2 separate regions of the Homo sapiens genome follow, and region 2 is linked to region 1. Evidence: promoter capture Hi-C in human tissues and cell types (Jung and others, 2019). All regions are on one chromosome and are shown on one strand. The core of a region is centred on a gene start or on the middle of the fragment in contact, and the rest is flanking DNA. Distances in the headings are between cores, read along the strand shown.

Region 1 (4,286 bases), core at 1-2,500:
ATTCACTTGTTCATCCATGCCCTCACTCAATCAACCAATATTTACTGGGGTCTTGGGAGGTGTCAGGCACTGAGCTTGGTGCTGGGCGACATGGTGGTGAACAGCCCCCCTGCTCTCACAGAGCCTAGGTCTGGTGAAGGAGCTCACAGCCTAATGAAGCTCTGCGTTCCCAGAGTGGGGGACATGGTGGCAGTGGGTATCTTTAGGCCTTGTGCATGAACAGGGCGCTAAATAACATTGAATTACACATTGTAGACAATTATTACCCTTTCAGTTACCTTCAGATCACATCAAGGAGAGAGTCCTGGTTGGATAGTAATGTCTTTAACACCCCTCTAGCATTTATTAATTTCCTCTCTTAACAAATAAAAGATGACTTCAGTCGAAGATGCTTAGGACAGATGACGGCACCTGGAGATATTTTAATAATGTAGATACCTCTTGCTGTTCAAACTCAGACCAAAAGAGATAGGCTTTTTTTCCCCCAGAGGGTGCACAAATACGACCAGAATTTGTGAAGACGAGTCAGAAATGAATGAAATTTGGAAAAATATTGATCTACTGAAATCCTTCCTCCCCACACTATTAGCCCTATGTTACAGTTGGGGAAACGGAGTCGTTTTGCAGAGGGGATGGACAGAAGGTAGGGAGTTCTCTTCCAAACGTGCAGGAGGCAAGCAAAGCCAAGAATCTTCTCTGTGGTGGAGTTAGAGACATATAAAATAAAGATCGCTCCTCCCCTACCTCTGCAGAACGTGTGTGTGTATGTGTGTGTAAGTGTGTGCGGCCACAAGCCTTTCCGAATGAGTGACAGCGGGAGCCCATCCCTCCAGGAGACGCGTGCAGAATGACCAATGGGATGGATGGGGGTGGATGGGTACCAGTCTCCGCAGAGGCCGGGGTGGAATTCGCTGCGCCCCACCCCTTCCACCCGCTCCCCTTCGCCCCGTAGGTCTTTCCACTCTCGCTCCTCCCCTGGGCACATCTCCTGAACGCAGCCCCGGGGGCCGAGGACGGGGTGGGGTGGGGGGCGAGGCTCGGGTCCGACGACCCCGGGCTGCGGTCCCGGCGCTGCAGAGCTGCGGCTGTGCACGCTTAGCCGCGAGGCCCGCGGTAGCCCGGGCGCCGATATGTAAAGCAGCTGGCAGCGCTGGGCGGGGCCTGGGCGCGATGCAAATGAGGAGGGCGGGGCTGGCCCGGGGCTCCGCCTCCCTCCCCCGCAGCTGGGGCCAGCGGTGCCAAGCGCAGCTGGACGAGCGGCAGCAGCTGGGCGAGTGACAGCCCCGGCTCCGCGCGCCGCGGCCGCCAGAGCCGGCGCAGGGGAAGCGCCCGCGGCCCCGGGTGCAGCAGCGGCCGCCGCCTCCCGCGCCTCCCCGGCCCGCAGCCCGCGGTCCCGCGGCCCCGGGGCCGGCACCTCTCGGGCTCCGGCTCCCCGCGCGCAAGATGGCTGACCCGGCTGCGGGGCCGCCGCCGAGCGAGGGCGAGGAGAGCACCGTGCGCTTCGCCCGCAAAGGCGCCCTCCGGCAGAAGAACGTGCATGAGGTCAAGAACCACAAATTCACCGCCCGCTTCTTCAAGCAGCCCACCTTCTGCAGCCACTGCACCGACTTCATCTGGTGAGCGCGCGCGCGCAGGGCACCTTCCCGGGCCCCCGAGGGCAGCGCCGCGCCAGGGACCCCCTCTCCGCGCCCTCTGCGCCCTCCGCGCCCTCCGCACCCTGGGACCCCGCGTCTCCGGACTCCCGGCTCCGGACCCTGCTGCCCGGGACTCCCGGATGGACAGTCCTGCCGTTGCCCTGTCCCCACCCTGGTCCCAGACGGGCCGCCGCGGGGCGCCTCCTGCCCTCTCCTGCTCTCAGGCGCCTCTAGAGCGCCCAGGGGCGGCGTCGCGGGAGCCTTTGCTCCACCTGACTAGGAGCGCGCGGGGTCTGTGCCTGCCCTGGAGGGCAGCGCCTCGGGTGCTCTCCGACCCGGGGTTCCCTATCTCTCCGCCTGCTTCCGGGCGCGAGGAGCCCTCGCCCCCCACCCCTTGTTTCCGGGGGGGGCGGCGCCCTGGGTGTCCTTCTCTATCTCCCTGCGGGCATGGGACATCCTTTCTCACTCCTCTGTGCCTCCGGGCAGCGCCCTGTGTTATCTCCCATTGCCCCTCCCCGAGGGCCTGGGTTCCCCTTTCCACTCCTCGGTCACATCACTGCGGGCCCCTTTCTTCCCCAGTCCCTCCAGTAGTGGGGCATCCTTTCCTCCTTCCCAGTCCCCCTCCCAGAGGACACCACCGCCGCGGGGTCACTCTCGCCCTCCCTCTGAATGCGTCTTTATCTCTTCTCTTTTCCCGAGGGTGCTCGGGGCATCTATGGGTACATCTGTCGCCTGCCTTCAGCCCCTACCCCGACGGAAACGCTCCCCACTATCCCGCCACCTGGTGGTCGCAGCCTCCTCTCTTCTGCAGGAGTGAAGGCAGATGGGGGTTACAGCCGAGCTCCCACCTACCCCCACAAAGGCGGAAGACTCTTGGGCACCCGCCTGTGGCTGGGAGTTTGCACCTGGGGTACAGAGGCAGGGAGGAAGGCGGGTGACTCTGTGGGTAACTAGCTGGAGGCTGGGCCCCCCGGGCTGCCTGACATACACCTCCTTCTGCTTTTGCAGGGGCTTCGGGAAGCAGGGATTCCAGTGCCAAGGTAGGCTCTGGGGCTTTGGGGATGCTATTTGTGGGAAGAGAGGGTGAAAAATACTTTATAGAAGAAGTTACTGAGTTAGGCAGAGAGTGAAAGAATCACGTTGGTCGGAGTGACCTCCCAGGCTAGGAATTCTTCACCACAACAGGGTCCTTTCAAGGGGTGTGTGTGTGACTGGGGCCGATGGCGCTTGGGAGTCTTACATGCCAAGGAAGTTCACCTACCCTTCCTGCCTTCCCGGCTCTGGAAGAGTCAAAGCGGTCTCCTGAAGCAATCCTGGCATGGTCAGTTCCGCTGGGGGAGAAAGTGTTTTCCCGGGACGTTTCTGGGAGAACCTGTCCTCCTTAGTTCCCCTTTCTCTGCCCATGTCCCTTCCTTATCTCACCCAGGGAGGTTCTGCCTCTCCCTGCCTTGCAGAGGTCTCTGCAGGTGGCTGCCGCTCCTCTGCAGATGGTGCATCCCCTAGAAAGGCGACTGTGTTTGTCGCCTGGGCCTCCTCTCTCTCTGAAAGAAGTATTTCCAGAGGGAGTGTTTCTCAGATCCTGGTTTAAATCACCCTATCTTCTGGGTTGAAACAGAAAGGTCTCCAGGGCACTGGTTACCTGAGTTCTTGCATCTGGCTTGAGATCCTGGACTCTAACCAGGGGTATCAAACCTGCTGGTGGTGAGTTGATCACGTGTAAAGTGTCCCCCTCCCCCGTCTTTGGGGCTCATGTCTAAAAGACAGATTGCAAATTGGCTCTCCAGGACCAAAAGTTACCCGCAGCTCTGTGTAGCCCTTAGGGTGTCTTACTTGTGAATTTGATGTGAACGTTTTAGAACTGGGAGATTTCACATACACATCCTAATTTCCAACTTTAACTTTGCTGAGAAATGGTCTCACTTTCGCTTGAAAACAATCGTTTGGAGCTGAGAGCCGTCGTCGTAGATGGGGAACAGCCTTACCATTTTGTCTCAGTTGATCCCAGTGGGGAACACTTCACCCATTTCTGGCCCCTGTGGGCATTTAAGTTTGCAACCTCTCATCTGGAAAGTTTGTGTGTTATGTTTTCTTTTTAATTTAAATTTTAATTTTTCACTCTTGGGCTTGGTAAGATTGAGTTTGGTAAGAAACGGCACATTTCTGGGGTATTGTATCTTTAGGGGCAAAGTGACCACCACCCTGGTGAGCTGGGTTTAAATCAAAAGAAAGTATTTGAGTGTGGAAGAGTCTGACGTGATTTAGCACTGACTGACAGTTTTGTGGCTGCACCTCCACCCTCCAGGGAAAAGTAAAGTGATCCCTAGTGAGTGTAGGTGGCATCGTCAGTGGTGCAGAATGTTTGCTTGCTGGCAGCATGGCACTGTGCTCCTCTGAGACTCTTGCATACTCTTCTGAGATCGGGGTCCCGGTGGGCTCAGTGAGCCCTGCCAACCTACCCAGCCTGTCTTACCAAGATTTGGATCCTCTGCACCACACCAGAGGACTCCTCAAGTCTCTTTAAGTGGCAACAACTTAGGCCCTGGTGCAAACAAATTTGGATTGTTTTCTAGAACTTTGACCCCTCAAACAAAATGCCAATGGTGTCTTGGCACCGGAATGTGTAATTTCTTCTTTGAGGTTGCCTTTCACTTC
Region 2 (4,286 bases), core at 792-3,291, 610 kb after region 1:
TGTGTGGGGAAAAAAACCCACACATTTGGTCACAGAAGTCTTCTTCTGTGTTGATGATTGTTGTAGCGTGAGAGTAGAGGAAAAGTGCAGTTTGGGGAGAGTTTTCCCTACAAAGCTTTCCACAAGATGGAGACATGGTGCCTGGAGCCTCCCAATTTATTCCTATGGACAGATCTCTCCTGGCCTAGTTGCTGTGCCCTGGGAAGTTCTCCTTGAGAGATGCTTGCCTAAATCCGCACTCCTGCAATGGGATTTGTTAGCTCCAAGTTCTAGCCTAAAAATACTCCTCTCTGATATCAAGGACAAAATTTATAAACACAAAAGTGGTTATTACGGCTTAATCACAGGCTTGGTGGTAGTGACTCTTGGCAATCTCTCTAGGGTATTAACAAGAGCAGAGTAAATATGTCATGTAGGTGGTATTTTTAGTCTCATCCACCCTTCCGACCCAAATGGGAACATCCCTACAGAAGGTTCTTGTGACTTCCTGGGCCCCACCCCAGCCTTTGCTGCTCAGAAACCGTAGTCATGCATGCTATGGTGGCAGCCATGAAATGCAGTAGCAAGAAGGGGCAGGTGGTTGCTGCCTGGGACCCATCTCTTTCCTTGTCAGACGGGCACCAAAGTCCTGGTCCCAATAGGCTAATCTATGCTTCCTGATTTCGGTGACTGAGTCACTTCCCTTTGTAACCATGGGACCAGCCCAAACTGGGCCTACTCTGTTTATAAGCAAATGTGGGCTTGTCTTTTAGACGTAACAGAGCCAAAAGCTGCAAGTCAGGCAGCCTGGGCATATGCAATAGAAAAAGCTTTGACAAGACCAAGAACCAACAATTCCTCCCCTTTGGAACCAAGAAGACCGGGACATGGCCGAAACCTGAACACCAGAACTCTTCGAAAGCAAGGGTTTCACTGGCTGGAAAGATCTGGGCCAAAATCAGCCTCAACATATCTTTTTTTTTTTTTTTTTTTTTGAGGCAGAGTCTTGCTCTGTCACCCAGGCTGGAGTGCAATGGCACGATCTCGGCTCACTGCAGCCTCGGCCTCCTGGGTTCAAGCAATTCTCCGGTCTCAGACTCCTGAGTAGCTGGGATTACAGGTGTGTGCCACCATGCCCAGCTAATTTGTGTTTTTTTAGTAGAGACAGGGTTTCACCATGTTGGTCGGGCTGGTCTCGAATTCCTGACCTCAGGTGATCCACCCACCTCAGCCTCCCAAAGTGCTGGGATTATAGGCATGAGCCACCATGCCCAGCCCAACCTCAACATATCTTACTATAAATGGTCAAATTTGAAGCCCTCCAATCAAACCCTGCCAAGCTAACATTCCTAAATCTTTTCCCTTGTCCTCTGATTCTTTAAAACTTGTCCCAGAGCCCAAATCAGGGAGACAGATTTTTTTTTTTTTTTTGAGACAGCATACTGCTGTATCACCCAGGCTGGAGTGCAGTGACATAATCATGGCTCACTGCAGCCTCGACCTCCCAGGCTCAAGCGATCCTCCCTCCTCAGCCTCCCAGGTAACTGGGACTATAGGTGCACAACACCACGACCTGCTATTTTTTATTTTTTACAGAGACAGGGTTTCACTATGTTGTCCCGGCTGGTCTCGAACTTCTAGCCTCAAGAGATCTTCCCATCTCAGTCTCTCAAAGTTCTGGAATTACAGACGTGAGCCACTGCGCCTAGCCCTAGGGGGACAGATTTGAGCCTGACTCCTGTCTCCTTGCTGGCCGGTTTCGCAGTAAAGCCTTTCTTTTCTCAAATTCTGGTGCCACAGTTATTGGCTTCCATGCACATCAGGCTGCAAGCCCATTTGCTCAATAACACCTTCACAGGGGGAGGCGCAGCTGACAGTTACATGTATCTCATGGGAATAAAAAAAGTCCATCCTCTAAAAACCCTCTTTCTGCCAACTCTCATCCCCAGCATTGGCAGCACTGAAAAAAAGAAAAAACAAATAATCTCCGACTGAGCCCTAGAGCCATGAGCCTAACTAAAAGAGTTTTCCGAGCTACATCTTTTCTATTCAGTGCCAGAAGGCTTTAAACATGAAGTTTACACTCCATTCCGAAGGGTGGGCTCTAGGGTAGGTATTAAGCTGGTCAGGGCTGGGGTCAGGGACTAGACTGTCTCTCCCCACACCCCCTGGATGTGGAGGGCATGTTTTGTCAATACTTGCAATGAACCAGGCACCCTGCTAAATGCTTCATGTGTATCATTTCGTTCAGTCCTCACAACGGCCCTATGAAGCAGTTACTGATATTCCTTTTTTTTTTTGGAGACAGAGTCCCAGTCTGTCACCTGGGCTGGAGTGCAGTAGTGTGATCTTGGCTCACTACAACCTCCACCTCCCGGGTTCAGGAGATTCTTGTGCCTCAGCCTCTGGAGTAGCTGGGATTACAGGTGCATACCACCATGTCTGGCTACTTTTTAGTATTTTTAGTAGAGGAGGGATTTCACCATGTTGCACATTCTGGTCTCCAACTCCTGGCCTCAAGTGATCCACCCGCTTCAGCCTCCCAAAGTGCTGGGATTACAGGGGTGAGCCACCATGCCCAGCCTCTCCTCTTTTTGTAACTTTCTTTATATGACCTTCCCAGGGTCACATAACAAGGGGCATTTTGAAGGTGGACAAATTCCCTCTGAGCCTCTGCTCTTACCTATGAAGCAGATTTATCTGAGCCTCCCTATAGGTTTTCCCCTATAGTTTACAGTCTGTAGAAGCCATCCCCAACCTCTCTGGCAACCAGGACCAGTTTCGTGGAAGACAATTTTTCCATGGACAGCAGGGAGGGAGATGGATGGTTTGGGGATAATTCAAGCACATTACATTGAATGTGCATTTTATTTCTATTATTATCACATTGTAATATATAATAAAATAATTATACAACTCACCATAATGTAGAATCAGTGGAAGCCCTGAGCTTGTTTTCCTGCAACTAGATGGTCCCATTCAGGGGTGGTGAGAGACAGTGACAGATCATCAGGCATTAGATTCTCATAAGGAGCACAACACCTAGACCCCTCACATGCGCAGTTCACAATAAGGTTCTCCCGCCTATGAGAATCTGATGCGTCTGCTGATCTGACAGGAGATGGAGCTTAGACAGTAATGCTGGTTCGCCGAGCTCACTTCCTGCCATGCAGCCCAGTTCCTAACAGGCCATGGTCTGTGACCCCAGGAGTTGGGGACCCCTGGTCTATAGAATTTGTTGTTTCCAGCCCTACCTCAACAATTAACCTCACTTTTGCTCGTTTTCATTTGGGAAACCGTAATATTGTGATGTAATAAGAAATACATACTTGGTCTTTCTCCCCAGTTCCTGGTACAAGAGCTTCCTGTAATTTCCTGAGTGACAGAATGTTAGGGGCATCTGTTGTTATTCATAGTAAGGTCCTTTCAACCACACCTGAGTATATGCTAATGGTATATGCAAATGACTCAAGGGGGGGTCCCCTAGATAGCTTCAGGCTTGGGGCTGGTTGCCAGAGGGAATCACATCCATGTGATTAGAAGTTTGGAACTTTCAGGCCAGGCGCGGTGGCTCATGCCTGTAATCCCAGCACTTTGGGAGGCTGAGGCAGGTGGATATCCTGAGGTCAGGCATTCCGGATCAGCCTGGCCTACATGGTGGAAACCCCGTCTCTACTAAAAATACAAAAATTAGTAGGGCATGATGGCGGGCGCCTGTAATCCCAGCTATTCAGGAGGCTGAGGCAGGACAATTGCTTAAACCCGGGAGGCGGAGGTTGCAGTGAGCCAAGACCGTGACATTGCACTCCAGCCCAGGCAACGAGAGCGAAACTCCGTCTCAAAAAAAAACAAAAACAAAAAGTTTGGAACTTTCAGCCCCACTCCCACAACCTTTAGGGAGGAAAGAGAGGCTGGAAAGGAAGACAGTCACCAATGGCCAGTGATTTAATCAATTATGCCTGCAGGATTAAGCCTCCACCCAAAACACCCCTAAACAGTGGGGTCTGTAGAGCTCCCAGGTTGGTGAAGACACAGACATGCTGGGAGGGTGATGTGCCCGGAGAGGGCATGGAAGCTCCACACCCCTCTCCTAGGCCTTGCTCTGTGGACCTCTTCCATCTGGCTGTTCCTGAGGGTTTTTTAAAATAATAAATTGGTAATCTAGTAAGCACACTGTTTTCCTGATTTCTGTGAGCCATTCTAGCAAATTATTGAACCCAAGGAGTAGATCCTGGGAAACTTAGAGCTGGTTGGTTAGAAGTACTGAGGAGCCAGGTGCAGTGGCTCATGCCTATAATCCAAGCACT

The links. Contacts are between HindIII fragments. The study calls those that stand out against the background at their distance.
Region 2: a fragment that was not itself captured here is called in contact with the fragment with the promoter of PRKCB in region 1 in 2 of the 25 tissues and cell types used here (dorsolateral prefrontal cortex and mesendoderm cells).

What each region holds. Positions count from the first base shown.
Region 1 is chr16:23,834,733-23,839,018 of GRCh38, forward strand. PRKCB (protein kinase C beta) reads left to right here and starts at 1,251. Exons shown (of 17, transcript NM_002738.7): 1 at 1,251-1,616; 2 at 2,643-2,674. The coding sequence starts at 1,444. RefSeq lists silencers at 747-1,386, 1,417-1,496, 1,827-1,906 and enhancers at 860-1,407, 1,408-1,953, 2,217-2,356. The HindIII fragment of the contact is 26,630 bases long and covers 1-4,286 here.
Region 2 is chr16:24,439,814-24,444,099 of GRCh38, forward strand. No RefSeq gene overlaps it. Among named protein-coding and RNA genes, the nearest start is that of RBBP6, 98 kb to the right of the region's middle. The HindIII fragment of the contact is 9,139 bases long and covers 1-4,286 here.